Linked DNA regions of Homo sapiens: region 1 is linked to region 2. The links are contacts of gene promoters, found by promoter capture Hi-C in blood cells and fetal thymus (Javierre and others, 2016). All regions are on one chromosome and are shown on one strand. The core of a region is centred on a gene start or on the middle of the fragment in contact, and the rest is flanking DNA. Distances in the headings are between cores, read along the strand shown.

Region 1 (5,314 bases), core at 2,444-4,943, 200 kb after region 2:
TGCAAATAATTTCGTAAGTGGAGGAATCCCTTTTCAAGCAGATTATCAGCTTCTGCTTGTTGGGATGGATCTCCTTTTACCGAGCACGCTTAAAGGAAGGGCTGTACATCATTTTCCAGGCTCGTATTGAGCAGTGACAAGATCACAGCTTTGGTGGGTGGTGCACTTGGAAATGAGGGGCCCTGCCTCCCACCTTCCTTTAAAATACAGTCGTAAGGCAGTTAGTAGGACGTCGTCAGTGCCCTTGCTAAGAGAGTTCCCACGCGGGGCCTCAGGGGCGGCGGGGCCGCCTTCCCCCACGGCCAGCCTAGGGAGCTTGGGAATCGCGACCCAATGCACAGACGGGCAGTGCTCGCTCTCTCTTCACAGGCGGGAAACCGAGGCACAACGACGGCTAGCACCTGCCCCGAGGTCACACGGCGACCCAACTCGGTTCTCTGGCCGGCGGCCTTGTTGGTTCCGGTCTGGGAAAGGGACCCCGCAATCGTCCCTCCGGCCGCCAGCAGCGCCAGGCCCCCCCCCGCAGGGGCCGGGGGTGGCGGGCCCGCCGCTGACCTCCCCCGCCCGGCCTGGGTCCCGCGCTCCGCGGGGTGACAGCAGCCGGGCGCCCTCTGGTGGCCGCCGCGCGCAGCAGGCGGGAGCGCGGAGCGTCGGGGCCTGCAACCGGGCGGGGATGACGGGGGCCGGGGACCCTGCACTTTGGGACGACCTGGCCTGGTGGCCGCGCTTCCTTCGCTACAAAAAGGAAGCACATCTTGGAAACACCGAACTTCTGTGACACCAGTAGTTACACCTGGCCTCTGAATCGGGCGAGCAGCGCCCTCGCGCCCCCAGCGCTGAGCAGGGGCGGGCGGGGAGCGGAAACGGTGGCTGTGGTTGTTGCCGCGCGGCTGGGCGCCTGGGGAGCCCGCGGAGGGGCGCGGCCGCCAGACCCCGCCCGGCCCGGAGGTGAGGAGACCTCAGCCCCGGACGCCGAGGCCCCGCCCCGCCGGCGATGCACCCCCCGCCCACCTCCGCGCCCCTTTGTTCCGCGACCGCAGTCCCGCCGAGAGCCGCACTGAAGAGCCCCAGCCTGGCCGTCCCGCGGTTTCCCGCCGCCTCACCAGTCTCGGGCGGGAGGGGCCCCGGCGCTGGCGTGGCCGCGGCTCCCACAACGCAGCCAGGACTGCACTCGGGGCTGCTGGGGCCCGCGTGCGTCCCGGGCGGCTCCACGCGTCGGGGTCGCCCCCGCGCCTCCCACCCCCGGCCTCTCGGGGCCGCCGGCTCGCGCGCCTTCCAGGCGAAGGCCAGAGGCCGCAGTGAGGGGCACCGAGTGGCGGGCTCCTCCGCACCACCCCCGGGCTTTATAATAAAAGTCGCCGTTGTTTAAGAGCCAGGTCGGAGGCGCCGCTTTCTGGGCGGTGAAAGCCGAAGCGAGAGCGGGCAATTCGCTGCGGCGGCGGCCGCTTCCTGGGCGTCGGTCCAGTGCCCCGGCCCGGCCTGGGAGACCCGCACCAACCCCGGGAGGGAGGACGGGGCGCGGGCGCAGCCTAGGGGCCGAAGCACTGCACGCACGGCCGGCGCGGGGGCAGAGGGGAGACAGGGAAGCCTGAGCTCCGCGCTGCTGAAGGCTCCGGGGATGGGTGGGCGGCGGTGAGGTAGTCTTGCCCGGGCCCTGCCCGCGTGGGCGCTTTCTGAGTCTCTGTCGCGTGACGGAGGCGGGACCTAGGCTGTGTCTCCTGCGGGGCGAAAGCACGGAAGAGATCCGAGGGCATTTCTTGAGCCTGGCAGGAGGCCAGGGGTTTTACAGGGCAGGAAGGAACCTGGAGGAACCGAGGAGCCACGTTGTTGGTTGGAAAGAAGGGTGGCCAGGTGGGGAGGAGTCTGGCAAAGGGTCCCAGACAGCAGGAAGGGCACCTGTGAAGCCGCCCTGCCGAGTGTGTGGTAGAGGCGGGGTGAAATGAGCACTGCTCATAAAAGTGACTGTTGTGATTTTTTATGAGATGGAGTCTCGCTCTGTCGCCCAGGCTGGAGTGCAGGGGAGCAACCTCGGCTCACTGCAACCTCCGCCTCCCGGGTTCACGCCATTCTCCTGCCTCGGCCTCCCCAGTAGCTAAGATTACAAGGCGCCCGCCACCACGCCCGGCTAATTTTTTTGTAGTTTTAGTAGAGACGGGGTTTTGCCATGTTGGCCAGGCTGGTCTCAAACTCCTGAGCTCAAGTGATCCGCCCCTCTCGGCCTCCCAAAGTGCTGGGATTACATGCGTGAGCCCCCAGCCTAAAAGTGACTGTTTACTACAATAAGTACAAATAATAGGTGACCAGCACTTGTCTGCTGAGGCCCTGGGGCTGGGTGTGTTTAGGGGACCCCTCTCCTCTCCAGGCCCTCCCCAAGCCTGCCCACTGATGGGGAAGCTGCAGGGCTATCCCTCCAAGGGGAGGCCCTGCCAGGCCAGGGAAGGTCCAAGTGGGTGCTCACCAAGCTTCCTAGGTTCCCAGTTTTCTTGAAACCATCTTCCCAGCACAGTCATCTCCCGTGGTTGCCTTTAGCAAGTCACATCCCCTGACTCTTTAACATCTCGGTCCTGGCAGTTTCTTGGTATGGCACCATCTCCCTATGTGGACCACAGGTTATCTATCACACTGACCCGCTGTCCCTCACACACAGTCACTCACCTGTGACACTTGGAAAGGACTAGCTCCACAGGCCTGGCCAGGGCCCAAAGGGAGGTGGCCAGCAATCGAAATCAACCCTGATGACTAAGTAGAAAAGGAGTCCTTGGGAGTATTGTGGGGAGCTCAGGGAGCTGACCAGGAGTCTGGATGGCCACAGCCACAGCCGGGGACAGTCTTGGGAGGTGACTGTGGTCACCACCACTACTGGGCTGCAGCATCGCTGAATGCAGCCCCTGCCACAACTCCACAGGCATTGGCTGTAATGATGGGCGGGGGTGCTGGGCACCACAGCGGGGAGGGAGGGCTCCTGTCCCTGCATCTTTGCCTGGGTTAGCCAGATGCCCAGGAAGGGAGAAGGAATGCTGCCCCCTTTAGCCTTTGAGGTGGGAGGAGGGGCCCTGGCTCCCATGACAGCTCACAAAATGGGGATTGCCCCTTACTAGGAGCGGTGTGCGGATGCTGATCAGCCCACCGAATGCTCACCACTGAGGGGCTGCAGCGGCCAGGTGTGAGGGGAAGAGACTGCAGAGAGGTGACAAGGCCGTCAAAGGAGAGGAGCCACCACTGGGGAGCCTGGTGGCTCAGGAAGGCAGCTGGTGTGGGTGTGGGAGAGTCGGATCAGAAGGCCAGCACTGCTCATCATGGAGCACCTGGGAGAGCAGCAGCGACTCAGCTCCTGGCACCAGGTGAGGCAGGAAAATAGGGTCTGGAGGCAGGGAACATAAGGCTCATTCACACTTCAGCTATAACCGGAAATATCCTCTCCATAGGGCATATCAGGTAAATGACTTTGTAACTTTACTTCATCCTCTCTGTTTATATAGGGCATACCCGAAGTAACCAATGAATCCTCTAGGGGGTATTTAAACTCCCCCAAATTCTGTAACAGGGCCTTTTGAATCCTACACTCAGGCCCATTCCCACACAGTGGAGTGTACTTTCATTTTCAATAAAATCTTCATTCCTTCCTTGCTTTGTTTGTGTGTCTCTTCCAATTCTTTGTTCAAGATGCCAAGAACCTGGACACTCTCCACCTTTAACACAGGGGTTGTTTAATTTACCTTTTGCCTTAGAAATATAAAAAGATACACAGTAAAGGTGTGTAAAAGGAAAGGCCTCTTTCACCCTTACCCCACCCCCATCCCTCCCTAAAGGTCCCTGTGATTAGCTTGGTGTGTGTCCAGCCCTCCCTCTGCATTTCACACGGATATGCGAACAGTGGATCAGGCTTGGGTTTGTTTCTTCCAATAAACGGCATCATGCGGTATGTATTGTTCTTTAATGTGCTTTTGGAGACGTTTCCAATCCAGCAAACCCTTTTATCCATTTCATAATATTCCGTAGAATGCATGCTCCCCATCTTGAGGGAAGTTTGGGTTGTTTCATTCTGCTTTGTTAGGACGAATGCCTGCTTTTGTGCACACAGTTGAGTATGGGGCTGGGATTTGAGGGGAAGAGGCTCTGTTTGAGTCCCTGTTGATGTGAGGTGAAGGTGTGTTGGTCCGGCACTAAGCAGGCAGTGGACAATACATGCTGAGCTGGGTTGGGAGTGGACTCTTGGGATTCGGGACTCAAAAATAATGTACGGCCAGGTAAATTGCTGGTTTTGCTTCTGGGTCACAGGAAGGGCTGCGGTCCCCGCAGACCCAGATGCGTCCACTAGATGGCGCCAAAGCCAGTAAGGTGAGGCGCTTGTGACAGAAGCCCCGACTTGCTGCAGGAGTCTGGGCCCAGGGTCTGACTCCTGAGCTCCTAGGAGATGGATGAATATTCTTCCTGCACCGCCAGCTGCCTCGCTTAAACGTGGGGAGGCTGAAGAGGGTGCAAAGCTGGGTGAACATGAGTGATTAGACAGGATGTGCCCTGGCCAAGACAGGGAGCTGAAATTCAGTCTGTGGAACAGGCTGTGATGGCCCAGAGGAAATCCATAGGTGGGAGGAAAACTATGGACCCTGTGCTCCATATTGCCAGGACCTGCAGAGGAACTAGCTCCTGCAGAAGATGCAGGATTTGGACGGGAAGATTGGGCAAGGGTTCTGTCTACTGGGCACTGAAGGTTTGATGGGGACACTGGGATGGTCCCTGCCACCAAAGCAGCTCAAGCTCAGGCAGAGGAAATAGAAACTGGACAAATGCAGTATTTCTTATGGGCACTGCTCTAAGGAGTAATTTGGAATCCAGTAGGGTGATGTAAGTGAAGGTGCTTTGAAACCTCCCAAAGCTCTCGCCCAGGTAAGGAGGTTTGTGGTCCTTGTCACCATTTACCCAGGAAAGCTTCAAAGCAGCAGCGGCGGCGGCGGCGGCGGCGGCGGCAGCAGAATTTCCCTCCTTCCCTCCTGTTACTCTCCCAGCCTCCTCTCCCTCCTATCACTCTCCTAAGTTCAGAGCTGACCCCACTCCTCTGCTACCCATGGTGGTAGCCAGGCCTGTGCCTCTCCTAGCATCAGAAGCTGCCCCAGGCTCCCAGGACTGGAGCTCAGATCTGATTTTGAAAAACTGAATGAATGGGTGAGAGCGGTGGCTTATGCCTGTACTCCCAGCATTTTGGAAGATTGAGGTGGGTGAATTGCTTGAGCTCAGGAGTTCAAGACCAGCCTGGGCAACATGGTGAAACCCTGTCTTTACAAAAAAATACAAAAATTAGCTGGACATGGTGGCA
Region 2 (5,510 bases), core at 1,245-3,744:
CTGTGCCCAAGAGGTGGGCGCCACCCCCAGTCCAAGCCTGCCTGCCAGCCCATCTTGCTGCCTGGGTTCCTAGAAGGCTGAGCGAGCAAATGAGGGCCTCACATAGGCAGGCCCGCTGCCACTGAGCCCCGTGACGGCATCGATGAGGTCCTCTTCCACCTCAGTGCAGAAGCCCACGCTGCTCATGAGCTGCTCCAGGAGCTGCCCATCCTCCACCAGGGCATGGGTGCCCGTGGCGTACACTGTAGCGCCTTCCTGCACTACCACAGGTGTGTTGGTCATGCAGCGAATCACTTTGGGGGCTGGCTGGAATGCCATCAGCTTCTAGGGTGAGGGAGAGAGCCGAATGAGTGGCCAGGGCACGGCTCCCACCAGCACCCACCCATTAGCTGCCATTCGTGGGTCAACCCTCCCCTCACACAAGGGGCATCAGGGCTGAGATGGGCACCTTCTCCACAGAGCTGATGGTGACACCAGCCGCACAGGAGACCACGATGTGTCTGGCTTGCACGTCGGCCCCAATCTCATCCAGGATGAAGGGGATGATATGTGGCTTCACAGCCAGAAACAGGACGTCGCTGTGCTTCACCGTCTCCTTGTTGCTGCGTGTCAGGTTCACACCCATCTTCTGCAAGAGGAGACTCCCAGCTCACAGTGCTGGAGCAGCCTGGCTATGCCAAGGCCTCCCAGGGAGCAGCTGAACCCCTGCCAAACCGATTCTGCCAGATGCAGCCTGGAATTCTTAGCTTTATGCCCTCAGGGTTCTACCCCTACCCCAAATAATACAGTTTCCCATTGTTGCTACTGGACAAGTAAGCACAGGCTTGGAGCATGACAAGCTTCTCCATGGTAACCAGGAAGTGGCTGCCCTTCTTCCCTGCCAATCTTCTGGTATCTAAGGCACTCCTCTGCCAGGTAAGAAGGCCCTATGGTGAAAGTGGCAGGGCAAAGGGAAATGCTAATACCTGGTCGTTAAAAGCACAGCTGAGTCAGGCCCTATCCTAACCCTGGCCGCTTGTTCGTGGGGACCGCACAGTCTCCATGTGGTCCAGGGCTAGGCTGGAAGCCATCCATCCCTCTATGACTCCAAACTGAGAAGCAGGACCCTCCAGTGCTAGGGACATCAGCCCACCCTAGGCACAGACACTGCCTGTCACCTGCCTCATCAGCCATCCTCTCCCACAGAGCACAGGTTTTGGGTGAAGACTTGGAATATGTTTTTGGAGAACAGAACAACTAACTCACCAGATTCTTCCCAATATGCTCATTCACGACTCAGAATAACAGCAAAGTGGCCACTGTTGTAAATGAGGAAATAGCCTCAAAGTGGCTGAGTACTTTAAGGTCATACAACTCGTCTATTAAGAAAAATGGCTGAGCGCAGTGGCTCACCCCTGTAATCCCAGCACTTTGGGAGGCCAAGGCGGGCAGATCACTTGAGGCCAGGAGTTCGAGACCAGCCTGGCCAACAGTATTCTCTACCAAAAATACAAAAATTAGCTGCGCGTGGTGGATGCCTGTAATTCCAGCTACTCGGGAGGCTGAGGTGGGAGGCTGAGGTGGGAGGCGGAGGTTACAGTGAGCTGAGATCGCGCCACTGCACTCCAGCTTGGGCGACAGAGTAAGACCCTGTCTGAAAAAAAATTTAAAAAATGAGTATTTATTAGGTACCTACTATGTGCCAGGTGCTTTCATCACATAATCACCTCAGTTAATCCTCTACCACTCCAGTGTCTGGATCTGACCCCCAGTTATGTCTCCCTGGGTGTTCCCACCACATTGAGCTGCCCAAGAGAAGGTGGAAAGATTGTCACGTTCCTGGAGTAAAGGTCACCGCCGGCCAAAGACCAGCACTTGGGCGCAGGGGCCGGCCAGACTCACTTCATCTCAGGTCATCCTTTTCCTGGGCCTCCACCCGCTTCCCACTCCGCCCGGCTCCACCTACCCTGAGCGCGGACACCGTGGGCAGGTTCATTTCTGGGGAGCTGGCTATTATCTTGTGAGCCGACAGGATGCCTGCAGAAGACAGAGCTTTTCAACTAGGGGTCGCGGCCCAGCCCGTTACCACGCTTTCCCTGGCTCTAAAACCCAGAGCCGTCCTAACAGTGCCAGTCTCCCTCTCCCCCTCAACCCTCTACGAGGACAGAAGACGCACTTGCTGCTCAACCAGAGTCTCATCTACCCCACCGGACGCAAACTCCCCTTTCATTCGCTCATGCTGGTGGGACGGAGGCCCCCTCGGGCCTCGGGACCGCCCGCGAAGCCGCCTCCCGCCTCCACGCGCTTGCCTGCGGCCGTGAAGCCCCGCGCCAGAGCATAGGCCAGCTGGCCGGCCCCGATGAAGCCCACGCTCATGGTCCGCGGTTCACGCCTCCTGGGAGCCGCACGAACCCCCTCAGCGAGGGACCGGAAGTAACGCTAGGGGAAGGGCGGACAGCGCAGGGGCGAACGGGCGGCGTGCCGAGGACCGGCGAGCTAACAGCAGCTTCTGGGATGGTGCAACCCTATTCTCCCCCGGCGGATATCTCCCGGGCGGCTGATGGCGCCTTAGGCCACGTGGCCCCGCCCCGTCCGGGCGACCAATCAGTGGCCAGGATCTCGGGGCAGGCCAATCCGCGGCCCGAGCCAGGCCGCGTGCCCGCCTCCTCCGCTCGCGACTGGAGGGCGGAACTCCGGGCTGGAGTCCCGGAAGCCCCTGTGGCAGCTTGGCGTGAGCTCCAGGCGCCCGCCGGCCCAGGACGCCCGGCCGCCCCCACCCCCCCCCCCCACCCCAAGGCTGAGGTCGCCGTCCCTAAGCCACCTCGGGCTCAGGGCTGAGGCCTGGCCCAGGCCTGGCTAATATTATTTCTGGCGCTGGCCATCAGATGCCCCTCAAGGCCCACAGGAATTCTCCAGGTTGCCGATTTGCGGGGATGAACGAGGCCCTCCTGGCGTAGGTTCAGACCAGGTGGCGGCGAGGTTCAGACCAGGTGGCGGCGAGGCGGCACCAGGGTGGTCAGCCGCGGCTTATTCACTTGAACTTGAGTGTTTCTCGCGAATTTGTCCAAACTAGATACAAGAAGGACAAGTTCGAGTCTCCGACTCTTCCGCGATCCCGCACCCCCCAGCCCCTTGCTGTCACTTGCCTTTTTTTTTTTGAGACGGAGTTTCACTCTTGTTGCCCAGGATGGAGTGCAGTGGCACGATCTCGGCTCACTGCAATCTCCGCCTCCCGGGTTCAAGCGATTCTCCTGCCTCAGCCTCCCCAGTAGCTGGGATTACAGGCGCCCGCTACCACGACCGGATAATTTTTGTATTTTTAGTAGAGACGGGGTTTCACCATGTTGTTCAGGCTGGTCTTCAACTCCTGACATCAGGTTATCCGCCCGCCTCGGCCTCCCAAAGTGCTGGGATTATAAGCGTGAGCCACCGCGCCCGACCTGTCTCTTGCTTTTAAAAGCTCCACCAATGTGATGTTTCCTTTTCTATCAGTAGTAAATATAAGGGGCCGCAGGGAACAAATGACAGAAGTAGAGAGGAAGAAGGTGGCGTTCCTAGAGGACTCAGAAGAGCTGAGGACCCTTAGTTCCCATGGTCTCTCTGCTAGCTTTTCTAGTCCTTTCCGTGTAATGCACACCCCCACTCCCAGGCAAGGGGCTGCTTTCTGTGAACTTCCCTGAGCAAGTCCCCAGGCCCTCAGTTTGTGCACCCTTTAAAGTGAGGACCAAATATAATATTTACTATTAAGCAAAATAATGCTATGTTTTATTTATTTATTTATTTATTTATTTATTGAGACAGAGTTTCGCTCTTGTTGCCCAGGCTGGAGTGCAATGGCACGATCTCGGCTCACTGCAACCTCCACCTCCCGGGTTCAAGCGATTCTCCTGCTTCAGCCTCCTGAGTAGCTGGGATTACAGGCATGCGCCACCACGCCCGGCTAATTTTTTGTATTTTTAGTAGAGACAGGGTTTCTCCATGTTGGTCAGGCTGATCTTGAACTCCCGACCTGAGGTGATCTGCCTGTCTCAGCCTCCCAAAGTGCTGGGATTACAGGCGTGAGCCACAGCACCTGGCCTCTGTATTTTTTAAATTCGAAAAGTAATACAGACATATTGAAGAAAGTTTGGAGATAAAAGTAAAAATAAAATCATCCACATCATACTTCCCAAAGATAGTTTCTTACAAACATTTTTGGTGTATTTCCTTACACTATCATGTCCTATGCATATCTACTTTCTCCATCATTGGAAATAAATGATGTACATGTAGTTTTGAAATTTCTCTAGTAGACATGAGCATTTTCCAATGTCACTGAAAAGTTATTTAAGACAGTTTTAATGACTACTTATTATATGTATGTACCTTACTGATTTAACCATTCAAAGGTCAATGTTAGGTTTATTGATTTATATAATAGATAACTTACTGAGCCAGGTTCTGGGAGTATAGCTATGAACAAAACAGACAAGTTCCTGTCCTCATAAAACATCAATTTATTATTATTTCTTATTTTTATTTATTTATTTATTTTTGAGACGGAGTCTTTGTTACCCAGGCTGGAGTGAAGTGGCATGATCTCGGCTCACTGCAACCTCCATCTCCCGGGTTCAAGCGATTCTCCTGTCTCAGCCTTCCGAGTACCTGGGATTACAGGCATGTGTCACCACGCCTGGCCAATTTTTGTATTTTTAGTAGAGATGGGGTTTCACCATGTTGGCCAGGCTGGTCTCCAACTCCTGACCTCAGGTGATCCACCCGCCTCAGCCTCCCAAAGTGCTGGGATCACAGACATGAGCCACCACTCCTGGCCTTCAATTTTTTAAATTTTTGTTCATATTATTGTGATAAAATCTTTGCCTGACTCATTATTTTCTTAACATGACTCCCAGAAGTGAGATTTGTAAGGTCCAGTGGTTTGGGGCTTTAAGAGCTCCCATAGCTGCCATGTTGCAGCATAGCCTAATGGTTACCAGCGTAAAGCTCTGAAACCAGAAACCCAGCAGAAACCAAACTGGCTGAAGGAAAAGGGGGGCTTCTGTACAGCGCTTGGGAGAGGCACAGGGGAGCTCACAGACCAGAAGGGGCACCTACAGAGAGCAGGACCTCAGGAATGGAACTAGAACACTGCGCTGCCAGCACTTCCCCTCTTCTCTTTGTCTCATTTCTGTTTGCCTGCATTTGGCCTCCCTTTTGTTGTAGAGGAGTCTTTGTCAGGTAGTGAGGAAGTTGGGGGTTTACCCTCCTTCACAACTTCCTAATGCTGCCTGCTCCTCTGCAGGATACTCACCCTCCCCATAGTCCACCAGGGCACTGCAGGGCCCTTTGCTTTTCCTGGCTGTGGTCTGTTGTGGGGAGCTCTGGATCTGACCTGCAATACAGGAGGTTGTGCTGAAGCTGAATGTGTGTTTTGGAGTGAGGTGTGGGGGACACTTGTGTCTCACTCCTTTCTGACCCCTTACATACACCCATCCCTTACCTGGTTGCCTTGCGTTGATATCTCCCGTTTCCGCTTCCGGGAGCCAGGGTGA

The links. The method cuts DNA at HindIII sites, captures the fragments that hold promoters and counts their contacts. A CHiCAGO score of 5 or more calls a contact.
Region 1: a fragment that was not itself captured here is called in contact with the fragment with the promoter of PYCR2 in region 2 in 1 of 17 cell types (neutrophils); the score reaches 5.2 in neutrophils.

The regions. Positions count from the first base shown.
Region 1 is chr1:226,121,029-226,126,342 of GRCh38, forward strand. No RefSeq gene overlaps it. Among named protein-coding and RNA genes, the nearest start is that of ACBD3-AS1, 24 kb to the right of the region's middle. RefSeq lists silencers at 356-415, 426-665, 846-1,235, 1,246-1,625 and enhancers at 1,716-1,945, 4,180-4,474. The HindIII fragment of the contact is 2,467 bases long and covers 2,461-4,927 here.
Region 2 is chr1:225,921,756-225,927,265 of GRCh38, forward strand. It overlaps PYCR2 (pyrroline-5-carboxylate reductase 2), which reads right to left and starts at 2,495. Exons shown (of 7, transcript NM_013328.4): 1 at 2,289-2,495; 2 at 1,946-2,016; 3 at 449-628; 4 at 103-324. The coding sequence starts at 2,355. MIR6741 (microRNA 6741) reads right to left here and starts at 387; the gene lies at 325-387. RefSeq lists silencers at 2,092-2,221, 2,532-2,621, 2,762-2,841 and an enhancer at 2,392-3,041. The HindIII fragment of the contact is 26,114 bases long and covers 838-5,510 here.